Regions from separate parts of the Homo sapiens genome. Here all the other regions are linked to region 3. The links are contacts of gene promoters, found by promoter capture Hi-C in blood cells and fetal thymus (Javierre and others, 2016). All regions are on one chromosome and are shown on one strand. The core of a region is centred on a gene start or on the middle of the fragment in contact, and the rest is flanking DNA. Distances in the headings are between cores, read along the strand shown. Region 1 has its middle 310 kb from the start of KCNH7. Region 2 has its middle 330 kb from the start of KCNH7. Region 3 holds the start of GRB14 (growth factor receptor bound protein 14).

Region 1 (2,770 bases), core at 2-2,501, 1.5 Mb before region 3:
TAAAGGCACACTTTTTTATAGAGCAAACTTGCAATCTAGGTCAAACATACGTTTCTCAGAGAAGTATTCCCTTGTGACCTCAGTTTTTCCTTGATCATTATTTACTTTTTTAATAACTCCAAACAAATTTGTCTTTTTTAAATGAAGAAGATGGTATGTAGAAAGATGATAGGATAATAGAGGGGATGTAAATTAGAGTTTTTGGTAAATGCTAAGGGTAAAACAACAAATTAAGAAATAATGTGCAATGATAAGATTCATACTTACAAATCACGTGACTCTCCGCAGAAAAATAAAGTTCAAATTCTTGTGAAATTATAACTCAGGTCCTGAGATTAATTGATAGTGATCAAAAAGCAAAATAAGGGAAAGGAGGAGTTAGTCATATTTTAGCCATTTGTAAGCATTTTACAATATAATATGTAACATATTGTATATACATAGTATATCTAATTATACATACACAATATCACCTACAATAATGCTTCAAGAAGAGAAAATATTGTTAACTGTAGTTTTGGCCGATAAAGTTCATGCCATTTTAAGTACAAAGTTGGTGATCATATGTCAATAGTTATGCTATTTGAAGAGCTAAGACCTCATTTATCTACTACTGTTGGGAAACACAGTATTCTTTATCAACAAATTTTAAAATTGAAGTTTCGATAACTGAGTGCCAAAGTGTGTGTGTGTGTGTGTGTGTGTGTGTGAGAGAGAGAGAGAGAGAGAGTATTCAGTGGGCATTTTGTAAATACACATATTCTTGCATTGGTCTAAAGTCTTCAGTGCTGCCCCTGATAGAACATTAAGAGTCAGAAAAAAACAGGCCTATAAAGAGAAATTATTCCCAGGACCCATCCCTACTGCTAGTTACCTGAACCCTCTTTCTAAGAATGGTAAAAGCTTTGATAAAAGAAAGCATTACAACTAATAACATAATTATATATGCATACATAATTCTGATAATGAGACGGCCTGGTGGGAAGGGGTCCCCAGAGAAAGTCCAACTAGCCTGTGTACTGGGAGGAGTGCACACTGGGGTGAAGCCACAGGAGTTCATGCCATTTGCAGTGGAGGAGGAACATGGTTCCTCTTCTTCCTGGGTAGAACCTGGAATTCAACCTGCCGGGTGGGAAGCACACTAGCAGGACCCTGGCTTTGCAGAGGGTCCCTGTTTGCTTTTTTTTTTTTCTTTTTGCCCAATAAATTCCATTATTCTCACCCTTCAAATTGTCTGTGAGCCTAATCTCTGATGGCCATTTGACAAGAACCCAGCTCCTAACTGAACTAAGGAAAAAGTCCTACAATATCTTTGGCACCCAACTTGGGGCTTAGAAGGGGCGACTGAAATGGGAACTCAAGACCTTTCACTGTCACTTCTAAGCCTTTTAATCCTCGGACTTCTGAGGGTAGAGGAAACCATACCTCCACCCCTGTCACTCCCAGGATCAGGGGCTTTTCCATGGCCTTTTTCTTCTAGTTTCAGGCTCGATGGGTGAGCGACGGTTCCTCACTCCCCTTCCACTCCCGGCTGGGGGTGGGGAATGTCACGTGTCCATGCCTTTCCTCAGCCAAGGGTTCAACTTCATTGGACAGTAATTAAGCTTTTCTCCCTGGTGGAGGAATCAGTTGTGTAAGAATAAGACATTGATTCCCCAGGCATCCTTTTCCCTACAACATCAGCAGGTAACTTTTAGTTTCTTTTCCATTTGGAAGGCGTTTTACTAGGCTAGAAGTGATAAGGATCACTGTTTATATTCTCTGTAAAGTTTTAATTATGAAAAAGGATTTGTGAGGTTGACCTTAAGCTGTAGCCAATCTAGTGTGCTTTGCATGTCTGTATGGTTCATAGCAAACTTCTCTGCAGGCCTCCATCTTATTTAACATCCTGGGGGCATGGCCTGTAACTCCGTGGCAAGGCTTTGCTTAGCAATCCTGCCTTAGGGAATGAGTTCCTTTCTGGCTTGATATCTGCATGTTTTCCTAGTCCTGTATCTTAAAGCACACCACCAGTGGAATGGGTTTTCTCCTGCCTGTGTGTGTAGTTATATGTGTGTGTGTGATGTCTGTAAAAAGAACTCTAATTAACTTGGCCTAAAGAAAGACAAGCACTTGGATCAAATATTTTTTAAAGGGAAGATAAAAGCCGTTGTACCTTTCAGTTCATGTGACTTTAATTTTTGAGGAATAAAAACAGCCTTAAAGATTATTGGCAAAAGGCAGATGTCATCAAAGTGTAAATAAGGTGACTAAATTATGCAGGTTATATGTAAGGTTTGCTAAGTACTTTGAGGTTATAAACTGCTTTTTGGATTTTGAGAAGTATTTAACTTGCTAGCTTCACAGTTGGTAAGGCCAGGGTACATATGGGACACACACGCCCTTAATTATGCTGGGAGTCAAACCATGGCTGCACCTCCCACACAATTAAAACAATTTACCAGGTTTTAAATTAAAGTTAATAATTACTAGGAGTTGCCATTATAACATGTAATTGAGACTACTGGAAATACTTACATGCAAGTTGTGTAAGAACAGTAAAATGTGGGGGGTTTTTTGGTAAAAGATTATAAGAATGCACAGAAATGTAATTTTCTGCCTAAGGTTAAAGGATTATTTTAAATTAGGATAAAGCTGAAGGTTTAAACAAGTGGTGGAAGGACTGTGGAAATTAATTTTGTAGAAGAGGTTCTCTGTGTGAACAATTAACTCACAAAGGTATTACATGGGTTTTCTGTAAATTAAGCATTAAAATGTAAAACACAATAAG
Region 2 (2,952 bases), core at 396-2,895, 1.5 Mb before region 3:
ATTGTTCTTTTCAATATTTCTGAGTAAAATATTTAGCTCATATCATATTTTTATTGTTTCCTGTTTTCTGGTAGATGTACTTGAAGTTTTTCTTTGCTTTTTAAAAATACTGCTTTAACTACAATTCAACAATTTGGCATTGGGCTATAAGTCATTATTTCCCTCATGAAGTGTTTCTTATCTCAAAGATATTATTTTTAAGTGTTCAAATACATGATATTTTATATTGCTTTTGATTCTTACTTCATTTTTCACAGAATACATAGTCATAGGGGAATGGCTCACCCATACTACTCTGGTGACCTTTAATATATTCACTAGGCAAAAGCTCGAAATACAGTTTATCTGAATCTTGGCAGCACATCTTATGGTATCACCAGACTTGAGAGTGTGGGAGACCCCTAAGGAGCTGCTGTGAGGCCATCTCCCACTTACCTCTTTATCTGCCATGGAAGGCTATTGTAAGAATGTTTCATCACATCCTGGATCTGATGAGTTAGGGGCTTTCTGCTCCACCTTCTTCAGAATAGAACTGCAGAATATAAAGCCCTTTCACTGCAATCTAGATTTGGCTCCTAAACAAAATGGCAGTCACTCAGCCCCTAAAAGTGGATCTTCGCAGCTTTACCAGTTGAAATTGTCAGGCCTTGTCTTGTCTTTTGTATGTGTGTGTGTGTGTGTGAACCTCTATCATATTCTTTTAAATTTAATATTTAGTATAAATCAATTTTGTCATATTTTGTGTATGCATCAAAGTAATATATAATCTAAAGTCTATAAAAATTAATTTTAGCTTATTATGCTTAAATGCACTTTAATCTTCCATATATTTGCTTATGTCTGTGTCATCAGTCTTAGCATGAGATGGAGTATATCAAAATCCCCCACTGTATTTGTTGATTTCTATGTTTCTGCTAGATGTTCTATCAAATTTTGCTTTATATATTTTTGGAGCAAAATATTATTTATATTTACCTTAAATTTTTAGATATTGTTGACACACCTTTTTTCTTATACCAGTATATCATGCTTTTTTGTTTTTTATCAAAAATATTTCTTTCTTTTGGTTACTATTTTTTTGTTATATCTTTTCCTTGATTTTAGGATAAACAAATTTATCAAAGGAATATGTGTATTTGTTTAGTAATATGAAAAAGATTATTTTATTTCCTGATTTCCTTCTATCCCTAACTTCCATTTTCATGAGACAAATACTTTGAACTGTTTCAGCTATTTCTTCTGGTATTTACTTTCAAATTTCTATACAACCAATTTATTCTGGTATTTCTTATAGGTAGACAAGAATTTAGTTCTCCCACAAAACCTCCAAGACCTCTCCTCCACCAAACATACAAACACATAAATTTGCTAAGTGTCTACATTGACTTCCTAAAATTTTCAATTTGCATTGTGTAATTTCACCTACATTTTAATAATTATGTAACTAACATCTAAAATAAGAATTTGGATGTTGTTACATTCCTTTTTACACACTTTATTTATTCTTGAATTAACATGTGCTTTATTTTTCTGCGTGACTGAGACAACCCCAAATTTTCTCAGAAAGTATTAAAAGTCTCATCTGAATACATACAAATATACCCTTTTTAAATTTATTAGATTTTCTTCTTGGAGTCTTGCCCTCTAGAACGAGATGCTGTTTGAGCAGCTTTCTTCGAAGTCCCCACTTCATCATCTTCCTTGAAAGTGACTTTTCATCTCTCCCTTCTCTTGCATTAAGTTTTGTATTTCTGTATTTATCCTTCTAAGTGATCTGATAATCTATTACTGCAAAACAAACCATTTCTAAACATAGTGGATTGAAATAAATATTTCTTTTTTTTCCCTATTTTGAAGGTCAAGTATTAAGGAAGGGCTTTACTACGACATTTGTCTGTGGTGTACCCAGTGCCAACCGAAATAGCTTGGGCTTAATGTTCTACATCCAAAATGGTTTCTTCACTCATATATTCATTACTGCAATGTCCCTTGGCCTTTCCTACATTCCACATAGTTTGCCATTCTCCATTGTCTTTCCCTGTAGCTTGGTCTCCTCATAGCATGGTGGTCTGAGCACTTCTCACATGACAGATGGTTTCTGAAGTGGCAGCTGCCAGACCAGTTAAAGGTCATTCATGGAGCTTTCATGCTTCACTTATATAATATTTTATTAGTCAAAGCAGTCACAGAGCTTGTCAGATTGAAGTGGGTATAGAAATAGACTCTGACTCTTGATGAAGGAGTGGGAAGTTCGTATTGCAGAGAGCACATAAAATAGAAAATACTTTGATGACCTGCTTTGGAAAATTTGCCATACATAGTTTATTTCTTCATTTTATGGAGCACAGTATCATCTAGTGACTTCTAAGTAAAGGCATATTGAAAGTAAAAATTTTGAGAACTTTCTTAATTTCAAAATTACTTTTTCCTAATGTTTGCTAATTTAGCTAGGTATAGAAGGGTAGATTGAGCATCATTTACTCTTAATGTTTTAAAGACATTGCTTTATTATTTTTTAGATTTTCTGGGCTGCTCTCTGGATGTCCAGTGCCAATGATTTCTGATGGTTTTGTGTAATTTTTCTCTTCCATATAGCTTTTGATTTTTTCTCCCTTTTGTTCTAATTTTCATGATGATCTGTCTTAATGTGCTTCTATTTTTATTCATTGACCTAGATCATTTATTGTTCTGTTTATCTTGGAAACACATATTTCTTAGTTCTAGGATATGTTATTAATTCTTTCATAACTTTCTCCCCAGACTTTAAAAAGTAATTTTATGGAAGGAAAAGACTTAAAAAAGTAAAAAAGTCATAAGAATGTAGCTTGCTTGATAGATTTTTACAAAATTAACATGCCTATGTAACCAGTATCCAGATCAAGAAACAGTGCATTGTTAGCATGCCAAAACCCCTTTGCAACTCCTTCCAATCATTAAACCCCAGACAGTAGC
Region 3 (2,939 bases), core at 245-2,744:
ACAGTATGTTAATTAGATACAAACAAATCTCCTATAGTTCCTCTCTTTCTGTCTCTCTCTCTCTCTCTCTCTCTCCCCTCCCACCACCCCTCCCCCCCCCACCGCCTTCTCTCTCTCTTGCCTTTAAATCACCAGGCATAGAAACTCCATCACTTTTGATAATTTTCCTGAAACAGAAAAATAGACTATACAATTACTAATCCAAACATCACCTGAGAAGTCATACATTGTTATGCATCCATGATATTGACAGTCTCTAAGTTGCATTTAGTGCATTCATCCTTATGATATTTTACTAATCACTTTTGGAAGTTATGATTTATTAATTATAGCTGTGGTTCATCTCACTTCAAATTTCATTCACAATGTTGCCCACACACAGTCTGTTGATTTTTCAAGCGCTTATAGATATTAAACAGCAAGGCAGTGTTTTGAGGCGGTAAGTTAATAGAACTTGCTAGTATAAATGTACTATAGTCCACTGGAGAGTAATTTTAACTTCACTGAAGTTGGAGCGCTTTGAAAATCAGGAAAAAAAAAGTAACATTTAAATGTATGAATATAAAGGACTATAGATTTTTGTATTGCTGTAACCCTTTTTCTTTCCGAAAGTATGTGCAACTCTAAAGGCACTTAGTGCTGAATGCTATGGAGATTGGGAAACCCTTTAAAGCCTCTATTCTTTCCTGCCGAACAGCAAGACTGCTCGAATGTCAATCCATGCTTTGCTTCTACAGGGTCGCTGTAAGACTCTATGTGGGAGGTGAATACATTTATGCTACGATTTTTTTAAAATATATAAAATAAAATAGAGTTTACTTTGTGAAAATGCATGGCCACGAAGGAACAGAAGGTGATCAGCCTGCAGCCTGAGCTCCTAGTTTCACCACCGATGGGCAGAGGCGAGAGAGATGAGAGCTCTCAATGAAACGGTGATGCTATTTATAAGGCGCTGTGAGATCGCAATGTCCTGCTGATCCGGTAGGAGCCAGCTCAAAGGGGATTGTCTTCAGAGACTTTTACAAACTTGGCCCAGCTCTGGGCACATGGCTCACCCCCTAGGACCGCCTCCTCACCCCCTCGCCGGCTGCCCAGCCAGGACACTCCCCCGCGCCCTCCAGGGTTGCCTACCTGTCTGCAGCACAGCCGCGGGTCCCGTCCGGAAGGGGCAGGAGCGCTCGCGCGTGCAGCCAGGGGGCCGGCGCCAGGTCGTGGGCGTCGCCCCTCCCCTGGGCAGCGCCACACACCTGGGCGGCCAGCGGCGAATCCCGGGCAGCCGCCCTGCTCGCGGCGCTCTGCCCATCTTGCAGGGAAGTGGTCATTGTCGCCGGCCGGGGGGCTCGGGCGTCATGGGAGACTCGGCGCGTGGGGAGAAGGGGTTTGCGCGGCGGGAGGCGAGGTGCCGGCTAGGCAGCCCGAGCGCTCTGCAGGTGTGGTGGCCTCGCCGCCTGCGCTCGGGGCCCCGGCGGCTGAGACGCGCGGCCGAGCTATCTGCGAGGCGGCGGGGGAGGGGAGGGGGCGGAGGAGGAGGGTGGGGAGAGGGGAGGAGCGGCCGGTGGGTGGGGGCCGCGGGCGGCGAGGCAAGGCGCGGAGGGGGCGGGGAGGGCGCGAGAGCGGCTGGCCGGCCCCGCGCGTGGCCCGGGGCGCTCGGGGCCACTGGCATTGCTCCCGCGCCGTCCCATCCGGGACGCGAGGCCGGGACCGCTGCCTCCTCAGGTGGGCACCGGGGCGCGAGGCTGAGCCCAGGGTCTGGGCGGCCCCGGCGCCGCTGGAGGCGGGGACCCAGCCGAGCGGGCGCTCCCGCTGGGCTTGCCGGGAGGACCGCAGGCGGGATAGGGGTCCGCGCAGCCCTGACCCTCATACCCTTGCATTCTTTCTGCTCTGCCATCTGAGATCACCTAAGCTGTTGCTGGGCCGCCATGACAGTCCCCACCGGGCCAGGAGGCCAGGACACCAGAGGGTTTGCCCCAGTCCTTCCCCACGTGCCTCTTCTTCCATCCACTCCGCAGCCAAAGATTGGGGGGTTGATAGGGAGCAAGGAGTCCAATCATTATAGAAAACTACTGAGATTTTGAGAATTCTCAGTAAAGCATGAGTAAACCTGAAGGTGTCTGGAATTAGAAAGACTATTAGTTTTATGGTAATGAGAGAAGCTTACATTAATGAATTCCAGGTTGCCTTACGCTACCTATTCCATCCTCTCAACAGCTCCATAAATTAGATGTTTATCTCATTTTACACAAAAGGAAACTGGGGCTCAAAGCCATCGAGTACCTTGCACTAGTAACATAGCACTAGTAGCTGGTGGAGTCAATATTCCAACCCAGAAGCTTCCTTCTCAAAAACCCAGACTGTTCGAAATAGTAATGACATTATTATGCTCACCCTCTGAGATGCAGCAACCCTACTCTGAAATGCTGGGTGATCCTGTTTCTGCTCTTCCAGTAAGTGTGCCCGTCCCTATGCACCGTTGAGGATTTCCAAATGTTTCACAGGGTCTTTGTTCTTTGACCAAATTAGGTAATATCTGTCCCTGGCATCTGCTTTACCAGGTTTTCTTAATTTCAACAACCTCTGCCCAGGGAAAGGTAAACACTGCCTCCAGAAGAAAGCAGCAGCTCCCCTCCCCCATCTCAGTGCATTCTCTCCCACCGAGGCACCGACCACTGGAGAACCCAGGGGTCACTAATTCCCAACCTGTGAGGAAACCTGGGGCACTCCGTGAAGACAGAAAATCCTTGAGTCACAGTTCAGGGAATCCAAGTTCTTTATTTTCCTAATGTCAAAATTAAGGCCCAGAAGTGACCTGGGTCACAGCGGGTGTGATCTCTGGGATCTTTTATACCAGGGGTCCCCAACCCCTGGGCCCTGGACCACACCATACCAGTCCATGGACTGTGAGAAACCAGGCCGCACAGCAGGAGGTGAGCGGCTGGTGA

Evidence for each region. The method cuts DNA at HindIII sites, captures the fragments that hold promoters and counts their contacts. A CHiCAGO score of 5 or more calls a contact.
Region 1: a contact is called between a fragment that was not itself captured here and the fragment with the promoter of GRB14 in region 3, in 1 of 17 cell types (M1 macrophages). The highest score is 5.8, in M1 macrophages.
Region 2: a fragment that was not itself captured here is called in contact with the fragment with the promoter of GRB14 in region 3 in 3 of 17 cell types (M2 macrophages, M0 macrophages and endothelial precursors); the score reaches 9.5 in M2 macrophages.

The regions. Positions count from the first base shown.
Region 1 is chr2:163,142,556-163,145,325 of GRCh38, forward strand. No RefSeq gene overlaps it. Among named protein-coding and RNA genes, the nearest start is that of KCNH7, 310 kb to the left of the region's middle. The HindIII fragment of the contact is 701 bases long and covers 902-1,602 here.
Region 2 is chr2:163,163,034-163,165,985 of GRCh38, forward strand. No RefSeq gene overlaps it. Among named protein-coding and RNA genes, the nearest start is that of KCNH7, 330 kb to the left of the region's middle. The HindIII fragment of the contact is 7,154 bases long and covers 1-2,952 here.
Region 3 is chr2:164,619,988-164,622,926 of GRCh38, forward strand. It overlaps GRB14 (growth factor receptor bound protein 14), which reads right to left and starts at 1,495. Exons shown (of 14, transcript NM_004490.3): 1 at 1,132-1,495. The coding sequence starts at 1,322. The HindIII fragment of the contact is 9,303 bases long and covers 1-2,151 here.